Linked DNA regions of Homo sapiens: all the other regions are linked to region 1. Evidence: promoter capture Hi-C in 16 types of primary human blood cells and fetal thymus (Javierre and others, 2016). All regions are on one chromosome and are shown on one strand. Each heading gives the region's core, a stretch centred on a gene start or on the middle of the fragment in contact. The rest is flanking DNA. Distances are from core to core; before and after follow the strand shown. Region 1 holds the start of ZNF583 (zinc finger protein 583). Region 2 overlaps ZNF274 (zinc finger protein 274). Region 3 overlaps ZNF329 (zinc finger protein 329). Region 4 has its middle 1.8 kb from the start of ZSCAN18. Region 5 holds the start of ZNF606 (zinc finger protein 606). Region 6 overlaps ZNF606 (zinc finger protein 606). Region 7 holds the start of ZNF586 (zinc finger protein 586).

The links. The method cuts DNA at HindIII sites, captures the fragments that hold promoters and counts their contacts. A CHiCAGO score of 5 or more calls a contact.
Region 2: a fragment that was not itself captured here is called in contact with the fragment with the promoter of ZNF583 in region 1 in 4 of 17 cell types (total CD4 T cells, activated CD4 T cells, naive CD8 T cells and 1 more); the score reaches 7.2 in total CD4 T cells.
Region 3: a contact is called between a fragment that was not itself captured here and the fragment with the promoter of ZNF583 in region 1, in 5 of 17 cell types (activated CD4 T cells, naive CD8 T cells, total CD4 T cells and 2 more). The highest score is 7.7, in activated CD4 T cells.
Region 4: a contact is called between a fragment that was not itself captured here and the fragment with the promoter of ZNF583 in region 1, in 1 of 17 cell types (non-activated CD4 T cells). The highest score is 6.4, in non-activated CD4 T cells.
Region 5: the fragment with the promoter of ZNF606 here is called in contact with the fragment with the promoter of ZNF583 in region 1 in 1 of 17 cell types (neutrophils); the score reaches 7.7 in neutrophils.
Region 6: a contact is called between a fragment that was not itself captured here and the fragment with the promoter of ZNF583 in region 1, in 1 of 17 cell types (non-activated CD4 T cells). The highest score is 5.1, in non-activated CD4 T cells.
Region 7: the fragment with the promoter of ZNF586 here is called in contact with the fragment with the promoter of ZNF583 in region 1 in 5 of 17 cell types (non-activated CD4 T cells, naive CD8 T cells, total CD4 T cells and 2 more); the score reaches 11.5 in non-activated CD4 T cells.

Annotation. Positions count from the first base shown.
Region 1 is chr19:56,402,872-56,405,797 of GRCh38, reverse strand. ZNF583 (zinc finger protein 583) reads right to left here and starts at 1,466. Exons shown (of 5, transcript NM_152478.3): 1 at 1,346-1,466. RefSeq lists a silencer at 1,233-1,442 and an enhancer at 1,903-2,042. The HindIII fragment of the contact is 8,045 bases long and covers 1-2,926 here.
Region 2 is chr19:58,184,725-58,187,650 of GRCh38, reverse strand. It overlaps ZNF274 (zinc finger protein 274), which reads right to left. Exons shown (of 8, transcript NM_133502.3): 3 at 1,813-1,939; 4 at 609-704. Among named protein-coding and RNA genes, the nearest start is that of ZNF274, 3.1 kb to the right of the region's middle. The HindIII fragment of the contact is 1,171 bases long and covers 946-2,116 here.
Region 3 is chr19:58,127,763-58,130,688 of GRCh38, reverse strand. ZNF329 (zinc finger protein 329) reads left to right here. Exons shown (of 4, transcript NM_024620.4): 4 at 1,178-2,926. The coding sequence starts at 1,186. The coding sequence ends at 2,811. Among named protein-coding and RNA genes, the nearest start is that of ZNF329, 22 kb to the left of the region's middle. The HindIII fragment of the contact is 846 bases long and covers 1,141-1,986 here.
Region 4 is chr19:58,098,537-58,101,462 of GRCh38, reverse strand. It overlaps a transcript of ZSCAN18 not described here. Among named protein-coding and RNA genes, the nearest start is that of ZSCAN18, 1.8 kb to the right of the region's middle. The HindIII fragment of the contact is 7,928 bases long and covers 1-2,926 here.
Region 5 is chr19:58,001,311-58,004,236 of GRCh38, reverse strand. ZNF606 (zinc finger protein 606) reads left to right here and starts at 1,417. Exons shown (of 7, transcript NM_001348022.3): 1 at 1,417-1,841; 2 at 2,867-2,926. The coding sequence starts at 2,918. It overlaps ZNF606-AS1 (ZNF606 antisense RNA 1), which reads right to left and starts at 1,343. Exons shown (of 4, transcript NR_036508.1): 1 at 1,191-1,343; 2 at 901-1,026. RefSeq lists an enhancer at 1,066-1,485. The HindIII fragment of the contact is 14,498 bases long and covers 1-2,302 here.
Region 6 is chr19:57,977,127-57,980,052 of GRCh38, reverse strand. ZNF606 (zinc finger protein 606) reads left to right here. Exons shown (of 7, transcript NM_001348022.3): 7 at 1-2,926. The coding sequence ends at 1,752. Among named protein-coding and RNA genes, the nearest start is that of C19orf18, 4.1 kb to the right of the region's middle. The HindIII fragment of the contact is 910 bases long and covers 1,018-1,927 here.
Region 7 is chr19:57,768,306-57,771,231 of GRCh38, reverse strand. It overlaps ZNF586 (zinc finger protein 586), which reads right to left and starts at 1,556. Exons shown (of 3, transcript NM_017652.4): 1 at 1,354-1,556. The coding sequence starts at 1,389. RefSeq lists enhancers at 1,322-1,571, 1,293-1,832. The HindIII fragment of the contact is 1,086 bases long and covers 553-1,638 here.

The DNA.
Region 1 (2,926 bases), core at 217-2,716:
TGAAATGATCTACATAAAGCATTGAGCACAGTGCTTAATTTTCATCTTTCTGTCATTTATTTTCATAACCAGCACATGGTAGGTCTCCCATTCCTTTTTCCTTTTAAATTCCTCACGTGCCCCCAGAGACTGAGAGGGATGGAAAAACTACTGTGCCAGAGGACAAGCAGCCAGCGTGGTCAGCTTTTCAGGCTTAAGGCTGAGGCTCCTGTCTGTCTCTCCCTTTTCAGCTCTCGTCCCTCCCTTTCTCCATCTTTTCCCCTTTATCTCAATCTTTCTGTCTCTCCACCACAACAGCAGTCTCCCAAACCCCAGAGCACACCAGCATCTCCAAGCACCCACACAGCTTCCTGCCCACACAAATCACAGACAACAAACCACATAGTTTCTCATTCTGGCACCTCCCCTGGCAACCTATGGACATGCCCCCACATTGTAGCCCGCCCTGCTCTCACAATGGGTCATATAAGGCCATTCTCAGTCACACTGTCACACTCACTGTCGGGATGACATACAGTGCTAAGTCACACCATCTCCCTCAGTCTCACATAATCACACACACTGTCATGCACAATCTCAAACACTGTCACATACAATCTTAGTCCAACAACAAAAACTCTGTTCACATACAGTTTCACATACAGTGACACAGTCTCACACACTGTCACACAAATTCTGTCGCAGTTTCATGTGGTCCCATATCAACAGCCACACACCGTACACAACCACACATAGCCTCACACACGGTGACATGGTCTCACATACTGTCACAGTCTCATCTAATCCTACACACACGGTCAAGCTCTGTTCACAAAGTCACACACACTGTCACACAGTCTTACATTATCCCACACACACAGGTCACACACACAGTGACATGGTCTTACACACTGTTCACACGTGGTCTACACATAATGACAGTTTAACACTGTCACACATTCCCAGTCTCACACATGGTGACGTGGTCTTAAGCACATACAGTGTCACACAGTCCCACACGGTCCCATATACTGTCAAAGGCTCCCGCATACACCGGGGCAACGGTCTCATACTGTCGCACACATTCTCACACCCAGTCTCATACTGTCACACATAGTCCCACATTTGTCCCACATGGTCTCACACTGACACACATATTCACACACGGCCTCACATTCTCACACTGTCACACACGGTCTCAAATTCTCACACAGTCACACATGGTCTCACACACGATTCCACACTGTCAAACACATTGTCACACACGGTTCCTTAATGTCTCACACATTCTCACACACTGTCACACACGGTCCCACACATGGTGGCATGGCCGCTCCCGGCGTCAGCTCCATCCCGCGCTCCTCACCGCCTCCTCCCTCCAGTGGGCACCTCCTTCGGCGCGGTCCTTGGAGGCCGGGGCTGGGCCAGGGCCCGGGCCAGGGCTCGATCCTGGCCGGCGGCCGCGCTCACAAAGGCGCCGCAGCCCTAGGGCAGGCCGCAGGGGCCGCTGGGAAATGGAGTCCGGGGCCGGCGCGGCGCAGAGGATGCTGGGATGTTGGCCGAGGGCCCCGGGCGGCCGCAGATCCCGCCGCTCAGTTGCGGGTAGTTACTGCTGCGCCCCTTTCCCTAGTAAGCCCACCTCCGCTGGCCTTCAGAATCCCACCCGGACCAGCTGAGCCCTCTCAGGCCGTTCGACTGTCCGCTCCCCCACCCGTTCCACCCGTTCCACCTGCGCAGGCGCAGCTGGTTCAGGTCCCCAAAGGCTGCCAGGCCGGGGTGCCAGCGCGGTGAGGCGCACGCGCAGTGACCGCGTCCGCGCTCCAGCGCTCCGGGTGGGGCTGTGAGTCCATCGCTGAGAAAAGGGAGCTGGAGGACCAGTGTGGAGCCTGAGCCAGCTGGAGAGGGGCCCGGTAGGATGTACGTGTGATTAAGCGCTCTGGCGGCCCGGGCTTTCTCTTTCCCTTTCTGTTTCTTCTCTCTCCGCCTTGCCCTGTCTTTCATTCGCCACTTATTGAGCGCCTGCTGTATCGGGCACTGTCGTGGGCCCTGGGCACACAGCAGTGAACAAGCAGACAAAATCCCCACCTCATGGAGCAGCATTCTAATGCGGGAGGAATTCAATAGGAAAAAATTAATAATAAAGGACACTGATGCATATTGGGAAGTAATGCGTATTATCAAGAAAAGCGAAGCAGAGTATTAAGATCATTCTTTCAGTTCTTCATTCTTTCAGTTATGCCCTCTGAATCAGTGGAAAAAACGCAAGGTGCATTTTTTTCTATTATCTCAACGACAACTAATCATAACAGAAGACTTTTCTGACCAAATATAGGGGAGTTTCCCACACATCTCAAGCAAGCAATGAGTTCAGTGAGTTCTGCAGCGGGCACCAGCTGGGTGTCCTCCAGTTTAATTCCGACGCCGTCTACTTGGAGATGGGTCAGACACCATTCGCTGAGGGCTCAGTCCCCAAGCCTGCCTCCCCCTTCCCACTTCCCACTAAAGTCTAGCCTCTGGAACATCTGACTCCACCACCTTCAAATTGGGATTTTCACCACCCCCTCTTTGCGGTTCGATATTTTGCTAGAGTGGCTCACGGAACTCAGGAAACACTTATGTTTACTAGTTTATTATAAAGGATATTACAAATGATATAGATGAAGAGATGCGTAGGGCAAAGTACAGAAAAAAGGGTGTTGCACCTTCCAGTAACCTCCACATGTTCAGCTGGGTGGAAGCTCTCTAAACCCTGTCTTTTGGGAGTTTTACAGAGGCTTCATTACATAGGCATGGTTGATTAAAATCCCGTCCCCTCCTTAGGGTTGGGGGTGGGGTTGAATGTCCCAACCTTCTAGTCATGTCTTGGTCTTTCCATAACCAGTCCCCATCCTGAAACTCTATAGGGGTTGCCAGCTGTCAACTCATTAGCATACAAAATGAGTTTTTA
Region 2 (2,926 bases), core at 282-2,781, 1.8 Mb before region 1:
AGCTCAGGAGTTCAAGACCAGCCTGGGCAACATGGTGAAACACTGTCTCTACAAAAAAACAATTAAACGGGCATGGTGGTACATGCCTATAGATCCAGCTACCTGGAAGGCTGAGGTCGGAGGACAGCTTGAGTCCAGGACGCGGAGGGTGCAGTGAGCTGAGATCATGCCACTGCACTCCAGCCTCGGTGACAGAGACCCTGTCTCCAAAACAAAAAGAAGCTGACTTGTCTGTATTATAACACCCCCAAAATGTGTATATATATTCACATACATTCACGTAAGCCTATATAAGAAAGTCTGGCTGGAAATACACACCAGGGTTACCAGTGATTATGAGGGGAGGGCAGTAGACAATGCGTGTAACAGACTAAGGGAGCCCCTACTGTCAACACAAGTATCACCTGCCACCAGCAACAGGTTCACTTTCAACCAAGTAGGACACTGCTGACTGTGGAGCCAGAGAAAAACTTCGAGTTTGGTTCTGCAACTGCTCATCACAGCATCCCACCTGGGGTATCCCAATGTCTACTGCTTTTCCAAGATACTGGTCCCTGACTCATCAGTTGGCCCCTTCCCTGTGGGGGCTTCCCATGTCTGGTTCTCACCTGGAATGGTGTCTTGAGGAATTCCTCTCTCCACTGGCCAGAAATCTTCTGCCTCCTCTAACTGAGATACCACATCTGGTTTGGAAAGCTGATGTTCTGCTCAAAGGAAAAGAGACAGGGCTTGTGGGGGTCTGTGTTCAGGAGAAAATGCTATCCTACTGCAGCACAAGCCGTCTCCAGCTTCTCCCCTGCTAAGGCACATGACTTCTGGCCTAGAGCAGTGAACACAACTCCATCCATCCCTGTTGTTGGCTTTCCTAGACTCCTTTGCCAAGCAGCTAAGGGGTCCAGTTCTGGTCAGCCAGACACAAAGGGAGATCGGTCAGCTGGGAAAGCTTTTGCTTTCTGGTTAAACATGACAGCTGTGAAAGGGCTACCCCTTCTCCTTGTTTCTGCCTTGAACACAGATGCAATGCTTGGAGCCACAGCTGTGCAATGACTAGGGGGAACATGGAAAGGTTCACAATAACCAGAGTTTGAAGGGACAGGCTTTTTTTTTTTTTTTTTGAGACGGAGTCTTGCTCAGTTGCCCAAGCTGGAGTGCTGTGATCTGATCTCAGCTCACTGCAATCTCCTCCACCTCCCATGTTCAAGCAGTTCTCCTGGCTCAGCCTCCTGAGTAGCTGGGGTGCTCGGCTAATTTTTGTATTTTTAGTAAAGACAGGGTTTCATCATGTTGGTCAGGTTGGTCTAGAACTCCTGACCTCAACTGATCTGCCTGCCTCAGCCTCCCAAAGTGCCAGGATTACAGGCGTAAGCTACCGTGCCTGGCAGGGACAGGCTCTTTGATGCTACTCCTAAGCTGTTGGGACACTGGCATCGCATTGTCTGGAATTTCTGTGGAGTTTCTTTTTTTTTTTTTTTTTAATAGAGACACGGTCTATGTTGCCCATGCTGGTCTCAAACTCCTGGGCTCAAGCAATCCTCCTGCTTCAGTCTCCTAAAGTGAGCCACCATGCCTGGCCGGAACTCTTGTTGCAAGAACAATAAGCATCCACTACTGCAGCTGAAAACATCCCTGACAGACCCATCTCCCTGGTATTCAGGGAGGGATGGACTAGGCAATGATTCAGAAGTCATACTGAAAAGCTGCCCTTTTCCTACTGGTGCCCCTGCAGTGTGAGCCCAAGCAGACACATACTTCAGAGGTGCTACATTTGTGCTACAAAGCACAGATCCTTCTTGACCTGGAGGCCAGCCTTACCCACTGAGACCAGGTTCCTGTAGTTCTCCAGCATCACTTCCCTGTACAGGGACTTCTGTTTGAGGTCCAGCAGTCCCCACTCTTCCGGGGTAAAACCCAGTGTTACATCTTCAAAGGTCACTGGTTCCTAAAAATCCAGATTCTTGTTCAGCCACAGGCCATCCGCATCCACGACAAAAGAAAGACAGGGGAGGCTGACCAGGCCAGTGAAAGCACAGAATGGTCTACAAGATGACCCAAGGGCATTTTGGGAGTCTCATCCTGAGTTCCTGTCTTTGTCTGAAACCCCAAGCAAACCCAAGCTTGACTCTATTCAGGTTACAATAAGGAGAGCAACACATGAGATCTCTGTAGCATATGAAAATCTGTCCATTTTATTTATTTATTTATTTATTTAATTTATTTATTTATTGTTTTGAGACAGAGTCTCACTCTGTCTCCTAGTGGAGTGCAGTGGCGCAATCTTGGCTCACTGCAGCCTCCACCTCCCAGGTTCAAGCGATTCTCCTGCCTCAGCCTCCTGAGTAGCTGGGATTACAGGCGCATACCACCATGCCCGGCTAATTTTTGTATTTTTAGTAGAGATGGGGTTTCACCATGTTGGTCAAGCTGGTCTCGAACTCCTGACCTTGTGATCTGCCTGCCTCGGCCTCCCAAAGTGCTGGGATTACACATGTGAGCCACCGCACCCGGCCCTATTTTTCTTTTCTTTTTTTTTTGAGACGGAGTCTCTCTCTGTCGCCCAGGCTGGAGTGCAGTGGCGCCATCTCGGCTCACTGCAAGCTCCGCCTCCCCGGTTCACGCCATTCTCCTGCCTCAGCCTCCCGAGTAGCTGGGACTACAGGCGCCCGCCACCACGCCCGGCTAATTTTTTGTATTTTTTTAAGTAGAGACGGGGTTTCACTATGTTAGCCAGGATGGTCTCAATCTCCTGACCTCGTGATCCACCTGCCTCGGCCTCCCAAAGTGCTGGGATTACAGACGTGAGCCACCGCGCCCGGCCCCCTATTTCTTATTCATTTGAAAATTCTGACTTTGGGAGTGGTGCGTATGCCTCCTAGGGAATTCTCTGAGCTGCACCATCACACCCAAGCCGTCAGCCCCTACCCAGGGC
Region 3 (2,926 bases), core at 314-2,813, 1.7 Mb before region 1:
TTTTTTTTTTTTTTTGAGACGGAGTCTTGCTCTGTGGCCCAGGCTGGAGTGCAGTGGCACGATCTTGGCTCACTGCAAGCTCCGCCTCCCGGGTTCGCGCCATTCTCCTGCCTCAGCCTCCCGAGTAGCTGGGACTACAGGCGCCCGCCACCACGCCTGGCTAATTGTTTGTATTTTTTTAGTAGAGACGGGGTTTCACCACGTTAGCCAGGATGGTCTCAATCTCCTGACCTTGTGATCTGCCCACCTCGGCCTCCCAAAGTGCTGGGATTACAGGCGTGACCACCGCGCCTGGCCGACATGATCCAGTTTTTATAACAACCATGCAGGGCAGTCTTTGACAGTTTTTGTTTTGTTTTGTTTTTTGAGATGGAGTCTCACTCTGCCGCGTAGGCTGGAGTGCAGTGGTGTGATCTCAGCTCACTGCAACCTCTGCCTACCAGGTTGAAGTGATTCTCCTGCCTCAGCCTCCAGAGTAGCTGGGACTACAGGCATGTGCCACCACGCCTGGCTGATTTTTTTTGTATTTTTAGTAGAGACGGTGTTTCACCATGTTGGTCAGGCTGGTCTTGAACTCCTGACTTCAAATGATCCACCTGCCTCCACTTCCCAAAGTGCTGGGATTACAGGAGTGAACCACTGTGCCCCGCCAGGTCATTGACAGTTCTAAGACTTAGACCCAGAACTTTTAGGTCACCAAGCCTGTGCTTTGTCCTATCCATGAATGCAGAACTTTGATGACAGAGCTGGGGTGAGAACTGTTCCTTCAGTGCTGTTGTAAGCTCATTGTGAAGTCAGAGCTTTGGAAATGTGTACTGATGGGCAGTGTGTGACAGGGACAAGAATGCAGTGGCTGGGATGGAATTCTAGGGGGAGCAGGGATGCTTGGCCTCTGGTCTCTCACATCTCAAACTAATCCTTTTGGTGATGATTTATCCCGAGGTCCATTCCTCCTGCCTGCTCTCTAGGAAGATGAAAATGCTACATGGCTCTTTTTGAATCTGTTCTTGGTTCCATTCCTTGGCTACGATTTTACCTCTTCCTTGTATAAATTTGAATTTAAAAGAGAAAACAAGTAAAAAAATACACATCTTTACACCTAGCCCATCATCATTGTCTGTTTCTCTTACAGATAAAGCTTCATATACCTAAGTCTGCATTTTTCTTCTTTTTGCAGTTTGGGATATGAGATTGAAAATGACGACTCGGAATTTTCCTGAGAGAGAAGTACCCTGTGATGTAGAAGTGGAAAGATTCACAAGGGAAGTTCCCTGCTTGTCCAGTTTAGGTGATGGTTGGGACTGTGAGAACCAGGAGGGACACTTGAGGCAATCAGCTTTAACTCTGGAGAAACCAGGGACTCAGGAAGCAATTTGTGAATATCCTGGTTTTGGGGAGCATTTGATTGCAAGCTCAGACCTTCCACCGTCTCAGAGAGTTCTGGCAACAAATGGTTTCCATGCACCTGACTCAAATGTTAGTGGTCTGGATTGTGACCCCGCCTTACCCAGCTATCCTAAAAGTTATGCAGATAAGAGAACTGGTGACAGTGATGCCTGTGGAAAAGGCTTCAACCATTCCATGGAAGTTATTCATGGAAGAAATCCAGTGAGAGAGAAGCCCTACAAATACCCTGAAAGTGTTAAGTCTTTTAATCATTTTACCTCTCTTGGTCATCAGAAAATAATGAAAAGAGGCAAGAAATCGTATGAAGGTAAGAATTTTGAGAACATCTTTACTCTGAGCTCATCGCTTAATGAAAACCAGAGAAATCTCCCTGGAGAGAAACAATATAGATGTACTGAATGTGGCAAATGCTTCAAACGGAACTCTTCTCTTGTTTTGCATCACCGAACTCACACCGGAGAGAAGCCTTATACTTGTAATGAGTGTGGAAAGTCCTTCTCCAAGAACTACAACCTGATTGTGCATCAAAGAATCCACACAGGAGAGAAGCCCTATGAATGCAGTAAATGTGGGAAAGCTTTCAGTGATGGCTCAGCTCTGACACAGCACCAGAGAATTCACACAGGCGAGAAACCTTATGAATGCCTAGAGTGTGGAAAAACCTTCAACCGAAATTCATCCTTAATTTTGCACCAAAGAACTCATACAGGGGAAAAACCATATAGATGTAACGAATGTGGGAAACCCTTCACTGACATCTCCCACCTTACAGTGCATCTCAGAATCCACACCGGTGAGAAGCCCTATGAGTGTAGCAAATGTGGAAAGGCTTTCCGGGACGGCTCGTACCTCACCCAGCATGAGAGGACTCACACTGGAGAAAAGCCCTTTGAGTGTGCAGAGTGCGGGAAATCCTTCAACAGAAACTCTCACCTCATTGTGCATCAAAAGATCCATTCTGGGGAGAAACCCTATGAATGTAAAGAATGTGGCAAGACTTTCATCGAGAGTGCGTACCTCATCAGGCATCAGAGGATTCATACTGGCGAGAAGCCCTATGGCTGCAACCAGTGTCAGAAACTTTTCAGGAATATCGCTGGCCTCATTAGGCACCAGAGGACTCATACTGGTGAGAAGCCCTATGAGTGTAATCAGTGTGGCAAAGCCTTCAGGGACAGCTCCTGTCTGACCAAGCACCAGAGAATTCACACTAAGGAGACCCCATATCAGTGTCCAGAATGTGGGAAGTCCTTCAAGCAGAACTCTCACCTGGCAGTACATCAGAGACTCCATAGCAGGGAGGGTCCCAGCCGGTGTCCTCAGTGTGGAAAAATGTTCCAAAAGAGCTCATCCCTTGTTCGACATCAAAGAGCACACCTGGGAGAGCAACCCATGGAAACATAATGGTTGGGGGCCACATGAGTCTTCCAGTTCACTCTCACTCCTGTGTTTAGGAGGCGTGTCTTAGATCTGACTCCTCTCTGGTCAGTAGAAAAGAATCCTTTAAGCTATCCAGTGA
Region 4 (2,926 bases), core at 397-2,896, 1.7 Mb before region 1:
AAAAGAAAAAAAGTGGCCGGGCGCAGTGGCTCATGCCTGTAATCCCAGCACTTTGGGAGGCCAAGGCGGGTGGATCATGAGGTCAGGAGATCGAGACCATCCTGGCTAACATGGTGAAACCCTGTCTCTACTAAAAATACAAAAAAAAAAAAAAAAAAAAAAATTAGCTGGGCATGGTGGCGGGCGCCTGTAGTCCCAGCTATTCGGGAGGCTGAGGCAGGAGAATGGCGTGAACCCGGGAGGTGGAGCTTGCGGTGAGCCGAGATCGCGCCACTGCGCTCCAGCCTGGGCAACTGAGCAAGACTCTGTCTCAAAAAAAAAAAAAAAAAAAAAAAAAGTGGGAGGAATAACTGCACCTGATGTTGTTACTCTGTAGCCGTGGTAACCCAATGTGGTATTGGCAGACACATAGATCAGTGGAACGGAATCGAGAACCCGGAAATAGACCTGCAAAGATATTCCTGACTGATTTTTTAAGGAGCAAAAGCTATTCAATGCAGGAAAGATAGCCTTTTCCAGATGGTGCAAGAACAATTGGCCATCTGTGGTGTAATAAAACCTACATTTCATCTTTTTTCTTTTTTTTTTTAGATGGAGTTTTGCTCTTTTGCCCAGGCTGGAGTGCAGTGGTGCGATCTCAACTCACTGCAGCCCCTGCCTTCCAGTTTCAAGCTGCCTCAGCCTCTCGAGCAGCTGCAATTACAGGCACCTGCCACCATGCCTGGCTAATTTTTGTATTTTTAGTAGAGCCAGGGTTTCACCATGTTGACCTCGTGATCCGCCCGCTGGCCTCCTAGAGTGCTGGGATTACAGGCATGAGCCACCGCGCCTGGCCCTTACATTTGATCTTTATCCCTGGTTCCTGGCACAGAGCTAAAAGCCTTGGAATTTTGTGAATAATAGGAATAGGGTTTGCAATTCATAAGGAGCCCGTTTCGACCACACCTGAGTTTATGCTAATGAGGTGACTCCAGTGGGACCCATAGATATCTTCAGGATGGGGATAGTCACCTTAAAGAAGGTATGGACCCTCTCTCTGCCCCACGATTGAGAGAGCTGGGTTGGTGAACACATCTGAGTGCTGGGAGGATGGCTCACCCAGACGGTACATGGATGCACTGCACCTTCAGTGCCCCTGACCAGACCTTAGCTGTGCATCTCTTCCATTTGGCAGTTCCTGAGTTATATCCATTAAAATAAACTGGAAAGACTGGGCATGGTGGCTCATGCCTGTAATCCCAGCACTTTGGGAGGCCATGGTGGGAGGATTGCTTGAGCCCGGGGGTCTGAGACCAGCCTTAGCATTATAGTGAGACCCCATCTCTTAAAAAAAAAAATTAGCTGGGTATGGTAGCGCACACCTGTAGTTCCAGCTACTCGGGAGGCTGAGGTGAGGATCACTTGAGCCTGGAAGGTCAAGGCTGCAGTGATTCATGATGGCACCACTGCACTCTAGCCTCAGTGACAGAGTGAGACCTTGTCTCAAAAAAAAAAAAAACATAGCTTTCAAAACTGAGCAATTTTTTTAAAAATTAGAAAATGGGCAAAAGATACGAACAGATACTTTAATGAAGAGGGTATACAAATGCCAAAAAAATCATTAAAGTGTGCTCAAACTTGTTAGCAATTAAGGGAAATGCAAATTGAAACCACAATGATATATCAGTACATACCTATCAGAATGGCCAAAATAAAAAATAGCAAAACACAAATGCTGATAAAAATGTGAAGTGGATTCACACATTCATTGGTGGTGGGAGTGTAAAATGGTCCAGCTACTCTGCATGAGAGTGTGGCAGCTTCTTACAACACTAATAAGCACGTGTTCATTGTGTGACCTAGAAACTGCACTCTTGGGCTTTTATCCCAGAAAAGTGAAAACTTACGTTCACAGAAAAATCTGTACACGAATGTTCATAGCAGCTTTATTTTTAATAGCAAAATACTTAAAACGATCCTAATATCTCTCAGTGGGAGAAGGTTTAAACTGCTATATACCATAGAATACTACTTCTCAATAAAATGGAATGAACTGTTGATACATACTACTTCAATGCCTCTCAAAGGAATTATGTTCAGTGAAAAAGCCAATCTGAAGAGGCCACATACTGTATGATCCCACTTATATGACACTGTGAAGGCAAAATTGTAGCAGTGGACTACTTAGATTAGCTGTTCCTGGGGTTATGGGTGGGGAGGGAGTGACTACCAAGAGGCAGCAGGAGGATTTTTGGGCAGTGGAGCTATTCTTTGTCCCGAGTTTGTTGGTGGATATGAGTTAAAATTCATAAAACTGAATACCAAAATGTGTGGTGTATGTAAATTTAAAATATATAAACTGTTCAGATATACATTTTAAAAATCAGTTCACACAAAAACGACCAAAATGGCATCCTCATAAGCGCCTCTATCTGGAAAACTGAAATGGGAAGCAGCTCCTGGCCCTATCCTGCCTTCCAGGGGGGCTACATTTATATGGGGCTTTGCCAAAGCCCTCACCCCAGCTGCCACTCACATTTCCCTCATTTCAGCAGCTCCTGAATCCCTGGGGTGGGTAATCTTTGAGTTCTATCCACTCCTTGAAACTGTAGAACCCATTTTAGCGCATCAGTGTCTCTGGGTCTCCACCTCTTGTCTCCCCAGTACTGGGTCTGCTGGTCCCTGTCTCTGTATCTCTGTCCAGATCTGTCTCAGCCTCGAGTGCTCCTTTTCTCTGGGTCTCTCTCTTTTCCTGAGCCTGAGCTGGTCTCTTTCTTTTCTTGAGCCCATGCTGGTCTTTCCCTTTCTTGATCCTGGGCTGGTCTCCCTCCTTTCTTAACCGTGAGCTGGTCTCTCCCTTTCCGTGTCCGACTCTGTACATCTCTGTTTCGGGGACCCCAGGGCGTCTTGGTCTGCCCCCGAGCGTCTGTGGGCCTTCATGCTTCTC
Region 5 (2,926 bases), core at 168-2,667, 1.6 Mb before region 1:
TCAGCCTGTCCTACTTGAAATTTTCCTCTCCCTTGAATTCAGCCTGTCCTACTTGAACTTTTCCTCTCCCTCTGAAAGGGCTACTCCCCTTTGCCCACCCACAGTGAGTGCCAACACCACCCAACAACAAAAGCCCAACCCACAGGCCAGCTTTTTAAAATGATCCTCCATTACTAGTGGAAATATCTTCAAAATCTCTCTTGCCCACTGCTCACTCAAGTCTAGCTTCCTAAATGGCCATGCTTTCTTTGGTATCACCACCTACAGTCCCTCAGTCCCTTTTTTTGAGACAGAGTCTTGCCCTGCTGCCCAGGCTGGAGTGCAATGGCTTGATCTCGGCTTACTGTAGCCTCCGCTTCCCGGGTTCAAGCGATTCTCCTGCCTCAGCCTCCCAAGTAGCTGGGTACAGGTGCCCTCCACCAAGCCCGGCTAATTTTTGGTATTTTTAGTAGAGACGAGGTTTTATCATGTTGCCCAGACTGGTCTCGGAACTCCTGACCTCAGGCGATCCACCTGCCTTGGCCTCCCAAAGTGCTGGGATTACAGCTGTGAGCCACCGCGCCCGGCCCGTTTTTGTTTGTTTTAATGCCGGGTCTTGCTCTGTTGCCCAGGCTGAAGTGCAGTGGTGCGATCATAGCTCACTGCAACCTTGACCTCCCAGGCTCAAGCAATCCTTCCACCGCAACCTCCTAAGTAGCGGGGACTACAGGCGCGCGCCATCACACCGGGCTAATTTTTGTATTTTTTTTGTAGAGATGTGGTCTCGCTATGTTGCCCAGGGTGGTGTCGAACTCCTGAACTCAACTGATCCTCCCGCCACAGCTTCCCGAAGTGCTGGGACTACAGGAATGAGCCACCGCTCCCGAACCGCTCCATGCATATCGATAGAGGAAAACTCACAGGGTGCGTCGCTGGTAACCCATGCTCCCATAAAGCCTGGCCTCTGGAAAGAGACTTGGGAACGAGCCCTGACGTTCTCAGCCGTCGAGCTTCACAGAGAAGGGTAGCTCGAATTAGGTTCCTTATCTTAAAGAGAATAACAGCAGTCACTTTCTCACAATCTTGCGAACGCCAAATGGAAGGATCCCTCGAGAGCGCTGAGAACTCGCCGAGCTCCTCCCGGGAAACCCGGTACCACGAGGCGCCATTTTGCGGATGGGCAAACCGAGGCCCGCGGGGCCGCGACTTACCCAGGCCTTTTTGCAGTGGGAGGCGACGGTGGAGGAGGGTGGTCTGGGACCGGGACAACAAAGTCCATCCTGCCGCCGGCTTCGACGCAGGTGCCAGAAAGGTCCCAACCCCGCCCAGGCAGGGCGAGGCGGCGCGGCCCAGGAACCTGTCATGGCGGCGCCGCTGCCCGACGCCGGAAGTGCCCGCCTGGAACTACAGCTCCCAGCAGACCCCGCGGCGCGCTCCGGTCGACGCCGGGGAAGCAGCCGCCATTGTCCGCGGCTGAGGTGAGGCCTTTGCTCAGGCTGTGGGGCCGCCGTAGCTGCGGGGCTTGGGGGGTCAGGAGAGCCGGCTGGGAGAGGCGGCGTCAGGGTGGGTCCTGCGCCTGCCCTTTCCGCGCCGGCTTTGCGCCGTCGTTGCCGTCGGTTCTCCAGCCAGCAGCCTGCCTCCGGCCTCCCGCCTCCGGGCGTTCTTCGTTTTCTGGTCGGACGGGCCTGGGTGAACTCTGCTGCACGTCGGCTCCGCGGGCCTTTGTCCCCGAGGCCGCGCCGGGAGCTCCCAAGCGCACTCCTGGGCCGGACCTCGGCGCGGGACAAAAGCCAAACGCCCCAGGCGGGCAGACCCCGATCCTGCTGCGCCGCCTTCAAGGGGGACCGCCGGCCGCGAGCCAGGTGAGGCCGGGACGAGCTTTTGCAGCGTCGCGGCCGCGTCGGTCTTGAGGAGGAAATTTGGGTCGGGAGCTCTGGAAGCAGGTGATAAGGATGCTTCTGAGGCCATTGATGGGACGAATAACCCCGTTCGTTCCCCAGCCGTCGTTTCTCCCCCTGCCAGTTCACACAAAGCACTGTGAAGGACGTCAGACCTGGGTTGGAAACAGCTCCGGGTTCCCTTAAACATGCAGTGACGGCGGCGGTCACTGTCAAGTTGCAAATAATGGTGCAAAGTACGGTTTGCATTCTGCGTTTTCGCGCTGATTCCGGTGCTCCTGAGGCCCACTGTGTGTTCTAGTGCTTTATACACATACCCAGGAATCCATTCGAGAGGTTGCTGACTTGTACAAAGATCTGGAACCTGAGGAGTTAGGGGTCTGGGCGCCAGGCCCATCTCTAAGTCCTCCACACACACACAAGCTTAGGCTTAGTAAATCTTGGAGGTGAATTTTTTTTGGAGGTGGGATTAAATTTGCATAACATAATGTTCACTTTAAGCACTTAAAAGTGTGCAATTCACCGGTTTTATTGTATATTAATAAAGTTGTGCAATCATCCCCATTATCTAATTTTAGAACATTTCATCACCCCACAAAGAAACCCTTGTTCCCCTTAAGCAGTCACTCCCCATTTCATTTTTCCCCCAGCTCTAGGCAACCACTAATATATGAGGATTGCAAGTTGATTTTACAATAATTGTCAGATTAATCCAAAAGTTCCATCTGTGTTGTGACTGGCTGTCTCTTGGGAATAGCTGACAAATTTGTACCCTCTCATTCAGGATCATGCTCTTTTTTCCAGCTTATGCAAATTACCTTTCATTTCTCTCCAGGAATTGTGTTACTTTTTTGACATGTAAATTCTCTTTTCTTACGATGCTCCTTACAAGTTTTTTTGTTGCTTCGGTGGATGGATTCCCTTCTTTGTTCCCACTTGGTCTTCTGTGAGAAAGGACTAGTTTTGTCTTTTTTCACTTTTGTCACTAGGTTGGGATTTGCTGTGTTCCTGGGCAGGTGCCTGGTCAATCAGTCCTCGGGATGGCAGCC
Region 6 (2,926 bases), core at 223-2,722, 1.6 Mb before region 1:
TCTGAATTCTGTGGACTTGGGGCAGAGTTTAGCCAGAACTTAAACTTTGTTCCATCTCAGAGAGTTTCTCAGATAGAACATTTCTATAAGCCTGATACACATGCTCAAAGTTGGAGATGTGACTCAGCCATAATGTATGCAGATAAGGTTACCTGTGAAAATAATGATTATGACAAAACTGTTTATCAGTCCATTCAACCTATTTACCCTGCAAGAATACAAACTGGAGATAATCTTTTCAAATGTACTGATGCTGTTAAATCTTTCAATCATATAATACATTTTGGTGATCATAAAGGAATTCACACAGGAGAAAAACTCTATGAATATAAGGAATGCCATCAAATCTTTAACCAGAGCCCATCATTTAATGAACACCCAAGGCTTCATGTTGGAGAAAACCAGTATAATTACAAAGAATATGAGAATATCTTTTATTTCTCATCCTTTATGGAACATCAAAAAATTGGTACTGTAGAGAAAGCGTATAAATACAATGAATGGGAGAAAGTCTTTGGGTATGACTCTTTCCTTACTCAACATACAAGCACTTACACTGCAGAGAAACCCTATGACTACAATGAATGTGGGACGTCTTTCATCTGGAGCTCTTACCTTATTCAACATAAGAAAACTCATACTGGAGAAAAACCCTATGAATGTGATAAATGTGGAAAAGTTTTTAGGAATCGCTCAGCCCTTACGAAACATGAACGGACTCACACTGGAATAAAACCCTATGAATGTAATAAATGTGGAAAAGCCTTCAGCTGGAATTCTCATCTTATTGTACATAAGAGAATTCATACAGGAGAAAAACCTTATGTTTGTAATGAGTGTGGGAAATCTTTCAACTGGAACTCTCATCTTATTGGACATCAGAGGACTCATACAGGAGAGAAACCTTTTGAATGTACTGAATGTGGGAAATCATTCAGCTGGAGCTCCCATCTTATTGCCCATATGAGAATGCATACTGGAGAGAAACCCTTTAAATGTGATGAATGTGAAAAAGCTTTTAGGGACTACTCAGCCCTTAGTAAACATGAAAGAACTCATTCTGGAGCAAAACCATATAAATGTACTGAATGTGGAAAATCCTTCAGCTGGAGCTCCCATCTTATTGCCCATCAGAGAACTCACACGGGAGAGAAACCATATAACTGTCAGGAATGTGGCAAAGCATTCAGAGAACGCTCAGCCCTCACTAAACATGAGATAATTCATTCTGGAATTAAGCCCTATGAATGTAATAAATGTGGAAAATCCTGTAGCCAGATGGCTCACCTTGTTAGACATCAAAGGACTCATACTGGAGAAAAACCCTATGAATGCAATAAATGTGGAAAATCCTTCAGTCAGAGCTGTCACCTTGTTGCTCATCGGAGAATTCACACTGGTGAGAAACCCTATAAATGTAATCAGTGTGAAAGATCCTTTAACTGTAGTTCTCACCTCATTGCACACCGGAGAACTCATACTGGAGAGAAACCATACAGGTGTAATGAATGTGGGAAAGCATTTAATGAGAGTTCATCCCTTATTGTACACCTAAGAAACCATACTGGAGAAAAGCCCTACAAATGTAATCATTGTGAAAAAGCATTTTGTAAGAATTCTTCCCTTATTATTCATCAGAGAATGCATAGTGGAGAGAAACGCTTTATATGCAGTGAATGTGGAAAAGCCTTTAGTGGTCACTCAGCCCTACTTCAACACCAGAGAAATCACAGTGAAGAGAAACTGAATTGAATTTATGCGAGTTTTTCGTTTCTTGTACATTTGACAACACATTGAGGAAAACCCTATAAACATAATCAAGAGGGGACATTTTTCATTAAGAGTTCAGTAAGACTTCTCCCACATTATTTACTAGAAAATATCATCTTAGAAGAAACCCCATGAAGGAAAAGAATAGGGAAAAGCTTTCAGCAGTTATTTAGCCCTTACTCAAAATCAGATAATTAACAATGAAGGAAACTCTAAACTCCCCTTATGGTCTACCAGTAATTCATACTTGAGGACCATGACTGTGGGGAATGAGGCATCTTTTAGCAAGAGCTCTCACCAATTGTAGATTGGTGTGAATTGCTAAGGGAAAAACCTTATGCAGAGAAAAGTTTTTGACTGGAAATACACTGTTTTGCATCAAGCTGGAGTACTGGATGGAAAACTCTACAATAACATTTTGTGCATAATTGTAGAAATACAGATTTTGTTGTTATAAGGGGAGGGTCTGGGTGCCCAGGAGTAGAATATGAAGTGCTAAATCTGAATGTAAGAAAAATAATAGTATTGAATGGGGTATTTACTGTTGATTAACCTCCTTAGAGAAAATTAATGAATGAGATGACTAACGGTAGAAAAGTTATTGCCTAGGAGTGTGAGACTGATGTTGCTGGACAGAAAGTGATCCTTAGCCCAGTGTGTCAGCGTCCATTGTTACTCATCACTGCATTGTTGGGCAATTAGTTTGTAATTTGTTTTAGGCAATCACTATAAATTATAATTATGGACACTGCATCAGTATACATAACATGAAGGAATAAAAAGGATACAGAATTGTATATACATACTTACTGTAACACATCTAAAAAAATGTATATGGGTAAGGACCTGAAAGATCCATGGAAAAGTTAACCCAGTTGAGATTTTTAAAAAGTTTTACAAATACATATAACACTTATGTGCTGGGCTTTCTTTTAAATGCTTTCCAAGTGTTAACTTGTTTAGTCCCCTTTACTCTGAGATAGGTACTGTTACCCCAGTTTTACAAATGGCTAAGCTGAAGCAGAGATGTTGAAGGATCCTACCTAAGGGGCACAACTAGTAAGGGAGTAGAGCTGAGATTGGCTCCAGAGTTCTTGTTTTCAGCCACCATTTTATGCTGCCTCTCCAGTGATTTTTTTTCCCATTTTCTTCAGTG
Region 7 (2,926 bases), core at 307-2,806, 1.4 Mb before region 1:
CCTCCCGGGTTCAAGCGATTCTCCTGCCTCAGCCTCCCAAGTAGTTGGGACTACAGGTGTGTGCCACCAGGCCTGGCTAATTTTTTGTATTTTTAGTAGAGGGGGGATTTCACCGTGTTAGCCAGGATGGTCTCAAACTCCTGACCTCGTGATCCGCCCGCCTCGGCCTCCCAAAGTGCTAGGATTACAGGCGTGAGCCACCGCGCCCGGCCGTGAAACCCCACCTCTACTAAAAATACAAAAAGCCAGTTACTCGGGAGACTGAGATGAGAGGCTCTCCTGAGCCCGGAGAGGTCGAGGCCGTGCTGCGCCGTGATCGCGTCACCGCAACCCAGCCTGGGTGTTGAGTGAGAACCCGTCGCCGAAAAAAAAAAAAGATGCCAAGATCTAGACATGTGGGATAGGATGAGGACCAGTGAAGGACTAGAGCATCCCCTACTTCCTACTGTGGATTCTGTAAGTGCTTCTGTAGCCATGAGGTGTGCCAAAAGGCAGGGCTTTCACAAATGTGTCTGTGCTCGGATTTGATAGACTCAGGCTTCTCTGTAAGCTTTTTTTGGCCCTGCAGCCAGATGACTTCAGACTGAGTCTCTAATCTTGTGGCCCAGTGCTCAATGTCACCTCTCAATGATTCAACCTCTCAATGTCCTCATCACTGCCTTCAACTCTGTTCTTCCTTCGAACATCTTTTGGGAATCGCAACTCTAACACAGATTTCCTCCTTTGTTCAAAACTGTCCATGGCTTTTAGCGTCCTCACAGTCAAAGTTCAACCCTCAGCCTGGTACTGAAGAAACAACTCCGCCTCGGCCAGGCGCGGTGGCTCACGCCTGTATTCCCAGCACTTTGGGAGGCCGAGGTGGGCGGATCACCTAAGGTCAGGAGTTCGAGGCCAGCCTAGCCAACATGGTGAAACCCCGTGGTGGCGCATGCCTGTAATCCCAGCTACTCGGGAGGCTGAGGCAGGAGAATCGCTTGAACCGGGGAGGTGGAGCTTGCAGTGAGCCGAGATCGCGCCACTGCACTCCAGCCTGGGCGACAGAGTGAGACTCCGTCTCAAAAAAAAAAAAAAAAAGAAATAACTCCGTATCACACTTCTTTCCCAGTAGACACACGATGTCCCCGTGTTCCGCATCCTCCTGCCTCAGTCGCGCCTGCAGGCCTTTGCCCTCCGCCAGTCTCGCTCTGCCGACCGCATCAACTGGGTGTCGGAAACAGGGATCCCACCCGCCGGCGCCTCTCCGTCCCTGACAGAGGCCTGGGCTGCAGGGACGCGAGGAGGCGGCCCTCACGATCAGGGGCCTCAGGGTCTGGGTGGGTAGGGTGGGTAAGGCCCGGAGGTCGCAGCGCTCACCTGAGCAGGCGCCCTCAGAGCGGCTGCTGCCGCCATGACTCTGGGCGGGGGGGGAACGCGGGCTCGGCGGTGTTCCTGTCGTTGTCCTGTCCCGGGTCGCGACCAGCGGCGTCGCCGAACCTCAGATCCGCCTGTGTGCAATGGCCACAACCACTCCTCCCGAGCTCGTCCAGACCCAGCATCGCCGGATGGACCTGACAGGCCAAAATGGCTGCCACGGCTAGGACGCCGGAAGTCCTGGCTTGACTTTACGTGCCCCGGCAATGGCACGGCTTCTCTGAAGCTTCATTGGCTCAGCCACGTTACCATTTCGCAGGGCGGATTCTGGGTAATGTAGTTCCCAGACATGGGCAGCGCTTAAGGTGGCTTTCTTCCGACTTTCCGAAGAAAGGGGCAAGCTCCACTGCGAGGGGCGCTAGGAAATGGCGACTCCAGGTCCAGATGCGGAGGAGGGTCTCCCATCTTAGAAGAGGCCATACGCACATTTCTGGGGGTACTGTGTGCAACTGATTGCCCGCGTGTTTGGAGACTTCTTATTTCAGAATTTGTGATGCTCGGCTTCTTCCTTTTTTTTTTTTTTTTGTCTTTTTTTTAAGACATAGTTCTCTCTGTCACTCAGGCTGGGGTGCAGTGGTGTGATCTTGGCTCACTGCAGCCTATGCCTCCCGGGTTCAAGCGATTCTCGTGCCTCAACCATCCGAGTAGCTGGGATTACAGGCGTGTGCCACCATACCCTGCTAATTTTTGTATTTTTAGTAGAGACGGGGTTTCCTCATTTTGGCCAGGCTGGTCTCGAACTTCTGGCCTCAAGTGATCTGCCTGCAATGGTCTACCGAAGTGCTAGGATTACAGGCGTGAACCACCGTTCTCAGCCCATTAGCAACACTTTTATTTATATCTTTAACCTACAGATTCCTCTAGAAATCTGATATCAACATCAAAAAGCTAATGAGACAAATGCTATTATGTTACAGGACAATGGCTGCGGTGTTCAAACATGGAGTATGTATGCATGAGAGAAGAGAGAGACCCTCTCACATTGTTTTATATTCAGTAAAAACAACAAGGAAGTAAAACCAAAGACAGGCAACCCCGCGCCAGGCCCGAAACCAGGCCTAGGCCCGCCTGGCCTAAACCCAGTAGTTAAAAATCAACTTATGATTTAGAAGCCGATGTTATTCATAGATTCCTTAGATTGTATAGAAGAACATTGTGAAACTCCCTGCCCTGTTCTGTTCCTCCCTGACCACCGGTGCATGCAGCCCCTGTCACATACCCCTTGCTTGCTCAAATCAATCACGACCCTTTCATGTGAAATCTTTAGTGTTGTGAGCCCTTAAAAGGGACAGAAATTGTGCACTCCGGGAGCTCAGATTTTGAGACAGTAGCTGGCCAATGCTCCCAGCTGAATAAAGCCCTTCCTTCTGCAACTCGGTGTCTGAGAGGTTTTGTCTGCGGCTCGTCCTGCTACATGCACAGGGTGCTTTTACACTGAGATATTTCAAGTGCCTTAAATCCATGCGTTCACCTCTTTGCTGGCAAGTGCTTATCATTGTCAGTGGCATTGGAATCA